Regions from separate parts of the Homo sapiens genome. Here region 1 is linked to region 2. The links are contacts of gene promoters, found by promoter capture Hi-C in human tissues and cell types (Jung and others, 2019). All regions are on one chromosome and are shown on one strand. The core of a region is centred on a gene start or on the middle of the fragment in contact, and the rest is flanking DNA. Distances in the headings are between cores, read along the strand shown.

Region 1 (5,803 bases), core at 1,265-3,764, 420 kb after region 2:
AGCACCATACACTGGACCCCCCAAGCAGCACAGTAAAGATCACGCCCAATTCCGAATCAGAAGACTCAAGATCCTTGCTTCTTAGATGCAAATAAGGTGGCTTAAAGTGATGGCTGAGAGCTCCTGATGTGAAGTTTAAGAGCCTGGACTCAAATCTTGACTGTGCTGCAGCAAGTTACGTGGCTTTGGGGAACTTAGCGCACCTCTCTCTGTGTCTTGTCTCATCTCCACAGGGTTGAAGAGAGCAATGACCTCCAGGGTTGTGAGGATTAAGTGAGATCATGGAAGGGCTCAGTCCTGTTAGAGCGTGAATCTTCTATATTTGTTAATTTTTACCTTTCATTTTGATCGTGATGTATTCCTAGTGCCAAGTGCACTGGTTTCTCAGAGTCACAGTTCCCCAGGCTTCTGGCTTCTCTGCCTCTACCTGTGGGGCTCAAGCCTGGCTTATGTGCTGGGCAGGGGGAGACTCGATGCCAACTCCTCCATTATCTTATTCTTCATTCTGTTAATTCAGGGTTCCTAAAACAGGCAAACAAACAAACGAAAGATTAAGCAAACAAAAAGTTTCCTTCTCCAGTACAAAAAAGAAAGAAAGAAAGAAAGAAGAAAGAAAGAAGAAAGAAAGAAAGAAAGAAAGAAAGAAAGAAAGAAAGAAAGAAAGAAAGAAAAGAAAGAAAGAAAGAGAAAGCAAGCTGCTGTGGGTCAGGTCCCATAAGTACGAGTTCAGAGTAATCAGTGCAGGGGTCCAGGCCTCTTTGTCCTTCCCTCCGCCTCCTGCTCCTGCGGGGACCACAGATGGAGCAGGGCAGGGCTGGACCAGGAGCCTCTGCCCAGGCATGGAGGGTGCACATCTCACCCTGGGATGTGGCCTGTGCAGGACCCAGGGCTCAGAAATGGGGTCCTTGCTTGCAGAGTTGCTGAAACTGAGACAGGCATGGTGGCCACTGAAATTGGGATCTGCAGTTCAGGCCAGGGGCCTGTGGAGCACTGGGTGGTGAGTGTGTAGTTTTGGTTATGAGTCACGGAAGTCAACATCCGGCCTCTCTGTGATGGTGTAGGCATGTGGTGAACAAGAAGGGCAGCAGCCCTGATGTCTCTTCTTCTCCACAGACCCACACTGGCTGAGGGTCTGGGCACATGGCACAGACGAAGTCCTTTCACTGCCAAGAAGCCTGAGCAATGGGTTCCTGCCCCTCACGGACCTGGAGCTGGGGAAGGAAGTGGAAAGGCACTGGCTTGGACGGAGAAAAGCCCCTCAACTGAGCCCCTAAGAAGGGGTCCCCAGTGGAGGTGTGGGGGCAGGCATGCAGATGTGGAAAGAGTGTGGCCAGCAGGGGCCGGAGTCCAAAGCGCAGCTCTCCCGAGGCTGCTCCTAGACGCCAGCCGGGTGAGGCCTTTATAATTGTCCGTGGCAGGGCCTGAAGGGTCCCATGAAGGATTTGGGGCTGGATCCAACTCCCAAGGCCAGGAGGGCAAACAGGGGATGTGGGAACAGGAGGGGCTGGCGTCTGCGGCTGGTGGCTGATGGGGGTCCTGCTGGATGATGGGGGCTGTTGGGGTGGGCCTGGCTTAGAGGGAAAGGGTTTGTTGCCATGCAAAGACCATCCAGGTCCTAAACACAGGGAGCAGAGACGGCGTTAACGAGTTTACACCCTCTATGTGAAGGAAGATGTCCAGGAGAGCCCAGAGTAGAAGTAAAATGTGGGGAAACCCATGGCCACGCTGCATCTCATCTCACGCATTTCCTCAACTGCGGAGCTCTTCTCCATTCGTCTGTCCATCTATCCATCCGTCCGTCCATCCATCCATTCATATCCACAAGGCACACAGAGCCCCTGCTCTGAGCTGGTGCTGCTCTGCAAGCTGAGATGCTTTGCTGAACCCCACCTTGAGCACACACTGCACCATCTTTGTCGTTTCTAACTGTCTCCCTACACAGTTAGTTTCGTGCCATGGTCAGTGCCGTGGAAAAGTCCATGTTCTGATGTTTTCACAGGTGCAGGTGCTTTGGCCTTCAGTCACGGATTCCACCAACGGCACAAGCGCCCTTTGCTCAGATGGACAGGGACGCTGGACACGTACCCCTCAGAAGGACACAGCGCAGCCTTGATCTCACCGTGGACCTAGACCTCCTGGCCGCAGGGCCCTGCTGACCTTAGTGCCTCCTTACGGGGGATCCAGCCCACGCGCCCCAGGAGAGAAGCCAGAGGAAGGAAGCTTCTGAGGCCGAGCTCCTCCTGCGAGGTGAACATTATGCCGCTGACGTGCCGGAGAAGCCAAAAACGCATGCAATTAACTCACAGTGGATTGATATTTTCCATTTTAAATTTTGTCTTAAAAAGTTTCAGAAGTGAATGTAAAGTCTCATAATTGAAAAATATGAAAATATGGAGAACATGGTGTGTTTTATTTTTATTCATCTGTTTGCTATCATAGCAACCCTGCTTTCCCTTCATCTTCACATGTGTTTATATACATATGTAAACACACGTATGACAAAATGCCGAATTTTCACATTTCATTGGTTAATTTTCATTTCTGACCAGCAAGGGGTCAGAAGCGTGTCCTCCCTGCAGGGACTCCCCGGATTTCTCAGCACCTCTGAGCAGGCTTGGTGTGACGCTGAGGAGGAGCAGCGTCTAAAGCCTTCCAGGCAAGAGAGGAGCATATCACCGTGCTCACTGTGGGTGCCCATCAGCCACATGGCGCCCAGGCCAGCCTGGCAGGCTGAGTGTTGGGTGTGGTGTGGATGTGTGGTCTCGCCGCCTGCCCCCGAGGCGCTGAGGTCTGGGCCTGGTGTGGACGTGTGGTCTCGCCGCCCGCCCCCGAGGCGCTGAGGTCTGGGCCTGGTGTGGACGTGTGGTCTCGCCGCCTACCCCTGAGGTGCTGAGGTCTGGGCCTGTGTTCCCACCACGGGTTGTGATGAGGCCCGTGGGAAGATCTGCTCAGCCCAGGTGCTTACAAGAGTGGTCACGTGGCCTTGGTCTGAGCCCCTGAGGATGCCGGCAGGAGGGCTAGAAGCCAGGCTGTCCATCCTGGTACACAGGGGGTCCTGTGGTGTTCTGCCAGGTGAGGCTTGGGGGTGCAGGATGGAAACCCTGGGATTTGGAGGGTTGGCGGTTTAAGGGCCAGGGCTCATCAGCCACTGGAAGTAGGTTGATACCTGGAATGTGCCTGACCTTCTGGGCTGGTCTCCACATTTTTGACTCTGATGCTGTTTGCGGGCGGAGCAGTGCTGGCTGAGAAGACATGGTGAACACTGAATGAGCGCGTTCTCTGCAGCAAAGTTGAGCCTCGGGCTTGGCATCTTTTAGCAAAAGATTTATGGTCCCATCTCAAATAACTTTGTGTAGCAGAATGCTGAATTTTCACGTTTTATTGGATAATTTTCATTTTGGGCTATTGGTCCGAAACTCGTGACAGAAAGATATCACTTGACGATAGTATCATTCATCAAGTAAGAGAGACTAATTATCTTATTTTGAATGTGGATTTAAATTCATTCACCCTGCAAGTCCCTAAATATTGGATTGTCGATTTGAAAAATTGACTATGCTTTTCATTTATGTTACACAGATCATATTAGACGCAACAGATGAGCCTCCACCCACGTTCTCAGGTGCACTTCTGCACCTCCTGCCATCGGGTTCTACTTGATTCAGACCCTGAACCATTTTGTGATTGGGAAAAAGTACCCTGGAAGACTCAGTACCTGTTAGCCTGATCCTGGGTTCCGTGGGGCTTAGCACTAAGTGGACGCCCAGGATATCATTGTGGACCCAGTGGCACTCCAGGAGTGCTGGCTGCCCGCGGCTCTAAGGGTGCTGATGCGGTCTCCTGCCCTGGTGCGTGACTCCATGTGCCAAGGCCACGCGCACCTCCCTCAGGCCCCTTTCTGACTCTGCTCCACTCCACGTTCTGTCATCTGCGCACCAGGCACCTGCTGAGCACCCACAAAGACATGGCCACCCCCTCCTAGGCATTGCACACGCTGAGGAGGGCTGTGGTAGGAACGAGACTCAGCCCCCTGACCACTGAGGGTCCTGTCCTGGGGATGTCCACACTTGCCTTCCGCACTGGTTCCTGGGGAAACCCCTGCCACCCTTCCCAGCCTCCTCCACAGGGTCCTGACCTCACGGACTCGGGCGTGGCCCATGCTCTTCGTGCCGTCGTCAAGTTCACCTCTCGACAGCTCAGAGTCCTGGTTCCCAGGCCCAGGTACTGGGACCTGTGTGGATTCCAACTGTAGAGACCACCCTGTGGACGCTGCTCCATCCAGCTGAATCTCCCTGGTACTCTCTGGCCGGAATCAACATGCTGCTGGCTACTCCCTTGGATGCCCGTCTCATCTGCTCACCTGTGGCCCTCAACAGTCACCCTCTGCTCCTGGGCCACTTTCTCCAGCACCTGTGCCCTCCAAGGCAGGAAAATTGTGTGCCTGGTCCTAGCTCCTTTATTTTCCTCTCCTGGCCCATTTTGAGGAACAATAAACTCACACCTGAAGCTTAAATTACTACACAAAAGGTGGTATTGTAATATTTTTCATTGTAATTGCAAAATTAATGTGGAATTATGGATCTAATTAATTTACACTTATTTGGATGAACAGCCCAATAGACAGAAGTTTGAAAGCTGAGAGGATACAGATTATTTTGCAAGTTACATTACCAAAGAATTTTGGAAATGGAAGATTCTTACATGAAAGGATTGTTAATGTGATTTTGCTTTAAAAATATAACCTGTATTGGCAATTAATGAAATAATATGTAATTTAGAACAACTAGTTAATTTCGTAGAAACATTTTGTCAGAATTTCTGAGAAAATAATGCTTTAAATCTTTTTAACTGATCAAAACACTTTAAAATATTTGAGAAACATCCAGCTGTGTGGAGATTGCTATGAGAAATTAGGCTCACCCAATTTTTTCTTTCCTCCATTACTCATGTGTGTGTGCCCAAGTACTATTAAAAACTTAAGTAGGAAGTGAATTATGTAACTGCTATTACTGTCAAACATCACACTTGTTTCGTCAGCCCTAAGAGGCCAACTATACGTCTGTGGTTATCATCCCCGCCTTCAGGCTGGGGTGAAAAATAGAAGGTTCTTGATAGAATTTCAACTTCCTCTTACTCTAACTTCACAGGTTTTTCTAAATCCCCTTAGAATGGTGGCAAGATTTCTGCCAGACCATCCACCTTTGCAAGGTAACGTTTCTTTCAGCCATGATTCATGCAATTGATTATGTTGTTATTTAATGGAAAGAGGTGGCTCCTATAATGTGCACTGAGGAGTTGGATTCTTGATATAATAAATACACCTGCTGCTGTGTGCAAGGAGACCAGCTGGATGCTGCTATTGCTGCCTGACAGCCCCGCCGTAGCTGCTTTTCACATCCTGCTTTGCTTCGCAGGGCAATCCTGGCCCCTCTTTATCTGTCTGAATAACTCAAAGGCAGTCCCCTCCTTCCAGAGGGCCTTCCTTGCTCAATTGCTTTATGATGCTAGTTTGTTTATAACAATATCACATTTCAGTGGGGAGCCAGCTGGCTACTCTTCAAATTAAGAACAGATACAGTACCTGTCTCTGCAGAGAGCAAGGAAACTGACCATTTAGATCAGCATTATTGTCCCTTTTAATTTTTAAATGACTCCTGAGATCATACGCTGCCTGCTAAGCCTTTGTTATTGGTTAATGAGCGCTGTGCTGGTCAACGGAAAGCTTTGTTAACGTCCCACTCATAACTTATAAACAAATTCAGCTAGAAGAAAATTTTTGTTTAACACATGGATGCCAGATATT
Region 2 (6,093 bases), core at 1,370-3,869:
TCCAAATGGAGAGAAGAGAGTGGGAGCAACTCTCCATTATTTCAACAACAACAAAGAGTAGTTGAAGAAATAATGGCTAAAAACTCCCTAAATTTATTCGAAAACCAAAAAAAAAAAAAAAAACAAAACCAAACATGAAATCCAAAGAAATCCATGATAAGACACATCATAATTAAACTTCTGAAAACTAAAGACAAAGTAAAAACTTGAAAGCAGCCAGAGAGAAATGACACATTATCTACAGGGGAACATCAATCTGAGTGACAGCAGCATCCTAATCAGAAACCATGGACACAAGAAGGAAGCAGCACAAGATTTTTCAAGTGCTAAGAAAAGAATGGCAGGCTAGCAGCCATGGCTCACGCCTTAATCCTAACACTCTGGGAGGATGACACAGGAGGATCACTTGAGACCAGTTGGGCAATATAGCAAGATGCTGTCTCTTCAAAAAAAATTTTTTTTAATTAGCCAGGCATGGTGGTATGTGCCTATAGTCCCAGCTACATGGGTGGATTGCCTGGGCCCAACAGATCAAAGCTGTAATGAGCTACGATCGCATCACTAACTCCAGCCAGGAGAACAGAGTGAGACCCTGTCTCAAAAAAAAAAAAAAGGAAGAACAATAGAAAAAGGGGAAATATGCGTATGTGGTATATGCAATACACTATCTTTATCATCATGAGTTTTATAAACCATATTTGATGACTGACACAAAAACTGTAACACCATCTGATACCCAGGACATGATACTTAAAGTGAGGACCTAAGTGAAAGAAGGGTTTCCACACTTGACTGGAAGTGGTGAAATACAGCAATACACCATGGTGATAAGTCACATTTGTATATTGTAATACCCAGAGCAAGCACTGTAAAAACTATACCAACACCTAATCTCAAACACACTATAGGGATACCAAAAAAGTGTCCAAGTAACCCAAAAAGTGGCAAAAAAAAAAAAAAAAAGAAACAGGAATCAGAATGAGAATCAGAAGAAACAGAACACAGATAATAAATGGCACACTTATATTCTAACATATCAGTAATTATCGTAAATGTAAATGGTGTAAATATGCCAATCAAAAGAGAATGGCATAGTTGATAAAAAATATAAGATCCAACAAGAAACTCACTTCAAATTCAACATAGGTAAGTTGAAAGCTAATACCATGCAAACATTAATCCAAAAAAAAGCATAAATGGCGACATCAATATCTAATAAAGATTTTAGAGCAAAGAAAATTACCAGAGACAGAGGAACATTAACAATGAAAGGAACAATCCACCGAGATGACAAAAAATCTTGAATGTGCGTGCACCACATGACAGTGCTTCAAAGTACATGAGGCAAAAATGGATTCAATCTGTGATGGAAACCTATTTTGAAACAGGTGGCACATTTCCAACTAAAGAACTCCTAAAATTAAACAGATTTACTAACACAATTACTGTTATAGGTAACACCAGAACCCACTTCCAACCAAGCACTGAAAAAAGGGCACCTTACACATGTTCTACTGTAATCTCCAATAATCCCGTAAGAAAAAATATTATCCAGCATTTTACAGATGAGGAAACCATGGCTTGAGTTTAAATAAGTTACCCGAGAGTAAATCGCTAGTGGGTAAACACTCAAATCAGCGTTATAACATTCCAGTATGTACTTTGAGCTATATGTTAGTCTCTCAAATGGCCGAAAACAAAAATTATTCAAAAACTCAAATTCTGAAGCAACTACATATTGAGTGAAATTATGTTTTCGACAATTCCTCTGGAATAAAACTTCAAAAACTATAAGAAGCAACACTTTTTAAAATTTTCTTTTCTTTGAATGAGAAATGTTAAATATGAGCTAAATGCAATCTCGAGTATGAAAGGTCTGTACACTAATTCTACTGCTAACCTGTGACCCCACTAAACAAGTTAACCGTTCTCAATACCCCATTTCCCTTTCGTAAAAGCAAAATTACTTGTCGACAAAAAGCACTTTGTATATATATGTTTAAACAAAAAGTGTGCCTAGCAAAGATATCGAAATGTCGAAGAGAAGTCATTTCAATAAGAAGTGTGTTTTTAACAAAGCAATTAAAAGTTACATCCGTCACCTTCACAATTCACAGGGCTACAAGAACAAGTTTCGGAGACTCTGAAGTATCCGAGAAGTTAGCACTTTTGATCCCCGTTTACTTTAGGAGAGCAGCCACCCCTCAACACTGGACCGCGGTTCTCTGCTCCCGTTCTGGCTCCTACGCTCGGCCCAGGCGTCCCGGGGATGCAGCCGCTCGCCCCGGCAGCTGCCCGCGGCCCTCACCACCGGCGGACGCCACAGCTGCGGCGCGCTCAGAACGCCAAGGACTCCCGGCTCCCAGCGAACAGATGGGGCGCGCCGGTAGCGACCCCAGACCCGCCCGGCTCCGGGTTCCTGCGGTGGGCTGGGGGCCCCGGGGAGCGTCGGCGGGGAACGGGGCCAGTGCCGCCTCGGTTACCTGCTGTGCCGGTCGGCTCCCGGCCTGGGCCCCGCGGCGCTGTAGTAGGCCGCGCGTTTGCGGTTGGCTGCGGCCGCCGCTGCGCTACGCACCGGGTAAAGCGGGATCTGGTCCGCCATGTTCCGACCGCCCCTTTCCCGCCCCTCCCACTTTCCCCTCAATTCGCCACCTTTTCCCCGCCCTCTCCCCTCAGCGCCAACCCCGGCTGAGGCGCCGCCTGCGGGCCTTCCCCGCCTCCGCCAAGCGGCGAGGTCCGATGACGTAACGAGCGGCGGCGCGGAAGGTGTGGCGTCCCTAGGCCCCGCCCTCGTTTGGCGTCGGCGCACGATGACGTGCCCAGGGTGGCAAAAGCGCGGCGCAGGAGGCAGTGGAGTCCGGGCAATGACGTCACGAGTGGCTAAAGCTGGGACGGGGGGCGTCGCGTTCCGAGGCCCCGCCCCCGCCTCGTGACGGGCCCGATGACGTCACCGATCGGCGGGGCGGGGCGCGCGTGCGCCACAGGCTGGCCTTCCGGTAGCGCGCGAGGGCCTGCACGTGGGTCGTGGTTCGACCCGGCGCGCTCTGGTCCGCGGGTGGAAGGGCCTCGCAGCCGTCTCCTGGAAGCTCTGCCGGGGACACGCGTGGGCGCGCGCGGCCTCCTTAGCGGTCCAGAGCCTGCGCTGCCAGTAGTACGCGCGCCCCATGGCTGTGTGGGGCCCCACGCGCCCTCCTCGCCGCGCGGCTTCTTGCTTCCGCCCCGCGCTTCTCCAGCCTGCCTTCGGTGCCCGCTTCCTGCCCGCGCCCTTGGAACCGCTGGTGTCTGTGCGTTCACAGGCAGGGTCGTGCTACGTGGCCCGGGCCCCCAAAGCGCCGCGACTGCAGGCGCGCCCACCGCGCCGGGCTGAATTTCCGAGATGTTCTTGTCCTGCTTCCTCACTGCTGCTTCCTTCTTTCTCTGGTTCTGGGTCTTTAGCTTGATTCCACATCCCCCACCTCTAGGCCCACAGCCTGCTGAAAAGTCCTATAGGCGACTGTCAGAAACGAGGTTTACACCCTCAGTCTACACAAGAAAGCAAAACGATATTGAATAAACGAATACACGGCTTTGGTTGGGTTTGTTTCATTTCCTGTCCCGAGGACAGCTCCCTTCCACCTCCATCACCCGCTGCAGCTGGAAGCCGGCAAGCTGATGCACCGCTCACCTCACGTATTAATGGTTTACTCACTTTGTGTTTTTTTAAACAATGTTTTTCTGATATTCCATTTTCATGACATATAAATTTTGTCTATGTGTTTGAAACACTGTTCAACATGAACTTATAAATGCTTTTCTTTTCTGTTTTTTGGAGATGGGGTCTCTGTTACCCAGGCTGGAGTGTAATGTTTTGATCACGGCTCACTACATCTTCCACCTCTCAAGGTTCAGGTGATCTTCCCCCATCTGCATGTATTACTTTTTCATTATAAAAAATGGTCTTTATGAATATGAATATTCTTAATTTGTTGCTGCCACTCTGATTGCCAGTTTGCTTCTCAGCTGCTTTTCATGTAACCTGAATACATGCCACTCCACAGACACTAACTACTTTCAAAAGACGCCAATGGCCTCCTAATTGACAATGGCCTCACCCATTATTTCTCTACCTCACTCTCAGCCGCTGACACTGTTCACACCATCTCTCACCCACATTCAACAACTGATATTGATAACACCATCTCATTCTCACAGCACTGGCACTGTAACACCATCTCCTCACCCTCACTCAGTACCTGACAGTGATAACGCCGTCTCCTCACCCTCACTCAACTACTGACAGTGACAACAGCATCTTCTCACCCTCACTCAACTACTGACAGTGACAACACCATCTGACCCTCAGTCAACACCTGACAGTGACAACATCTTCTGACCCTCACTCAGCAACTGAAAGTGACAACAACATTTCTTCACCCTCACTCAACAACTGACAATGACAACACCTTCTCCTGACCCTCAACTACTGACAGGGACAACACCGTCTTCTCACCCTCACTCAATAACTGACAGCAACAACACCATCTCCTGACCCTCACTCAACTACTGACAGTAACACCATCATCTCCTGACCCTCACTCAACATCTGACAGTGACAGACCATCTCCTCTCTCTCACTCAACACCTGACAGTGATAACACCTTCTCCTCACCCTCACTCAACTTCCAACAGTGACAACAGCATCTCCTCACTGTCAGTCAACTACTGATAGTGACAACACCATCTCCTCACCCTCACTCAACACCTGAGAGTGACAACAGCATCTCCTCAGCCTCAGTCAACAACTGACAGTGTACCCTCACTCAACAACTGACAGTGACAACACCATCTCCTGACCCTCACTCAACTACTGACAGTGACAACACCGTCTCCTGTCTCCTTACCCTCACTCAACAACTGACAGTGACACCATCTCCTCACCCTCACTCAACACCTGACAGTGACAACAGCATCTCCTTACCCTCACTCAACACCTGAAAGTGACAACAGCATCTCAGCCTCATTCAAGAACTGACAGTGACAACATCTCCTCACCCTCACTCAACACCTGACAGTGACAACAGCATCTCCTCACCCTCACTCAACACCTGACAGTGACAACAGCATCTCCTCAGCCTCATTCAAGAACTGACAGTGACAACACCATCTCCTCAGCCTCACTCAACAGCTGACAGTGACAACATCATCTATACCCTCACTCAACACCTGACAGTGACAACAATATCTCCTCACCCTCTCTCAAGAACTGACAGTGGCAACACCATCTCCTCACCCTCACTCAACTACTGACAGTGACAACACCATCTCCTCACCCTCACTCAACACCTGACAGTGACACCACCATCTCCTCACCCTCACTCAAGAACTGACAGTGACATCACCATCTCCTCAGCCTCACTCAACTACTGACAGTGACAACACCATCTCCTGACCCTCACTCAGCTACTGACAGTGACAACACCATCTCCTCACCCTCATTCAACAACTGACAGTGACACCATCTCCTCACCCTCACTCAACACCTGACAGTAACAACAGCATCTCCTCACCCTCACTCAACACCTGACAGTGACAACAGCATCTCCTCACCCTCACTCAAGAACTGACAGTGACAACACCATCTCCTCAGCCTCACTCAACTGACAGTGACAACATCATCTACACCCTCACTCAACACCTGACAGTGATACCATCTCCTCACCCTCACTCAACACCTGACTGTGACAACAGCATCTCCTCACCCTCACTCAACTACTGACAGTGACAACACCATCTCCTCACCCTCACTCAACTACTGACAGTGACAACACCATCTCCTCACCCTCACTCAACAACTGACAGTGACACCATCTCCTCACCCTTAGTCAACACCTGACAGTGACAACAGCATCTCCTCACCCTCACTCAACACCTGACAGTGACAACAGCATCCCCTCACCCTCACTCAAGAACTGACAGTGACAACACTATCTCCTCAGCCTCACTCAACAACTGACAGTGACATCATCATCTACACCCTCACTCAACACCTGACAGTGAGACCATCTCCTCACTCTCACTCACCACCTGACTATGACAACAGCATCTCCTCACCCT

Evidence for each region. Contacts are between HindIII fragments. The study calls those that stand out against the background at their distance.
Region 1: a fragment that was not itself captured here is called in contact with the fragment with the promoter of ATP9B in region 2 in 1 of the 25 tissues and cell types used here (H1 embryonic stem cells).

Annotation. Positions count from the first base shown.
Region 1 is chr18:78,642,439-78,648,241 of GRCh38, reverse strand. No RefSeq gene overlaps it. Among named protein-coding and RNA genes, the nearest start is that of LINC01896, 330 kb to the left of the region's middle. RefSeq lists an enhancer at 232-1,431. The HindIII fragment of the contact is 5,202 bases long and covers 1-5,115 here.
Region 2 is chr18:79,065,920-79,072,012 of GRCh38, reverse strand. It overlaps ATP9B (ATPase phospholipid transporting 9B (putative)), which reads right to left and starts at 2,619. Exons shown (of 30, transcript NM_198531.5): 1 at 2,484-2,619. The coding sequence starts at 2,602. The HindIII fragment of the contact is 23,298 bases long and covers 1-6,093 here.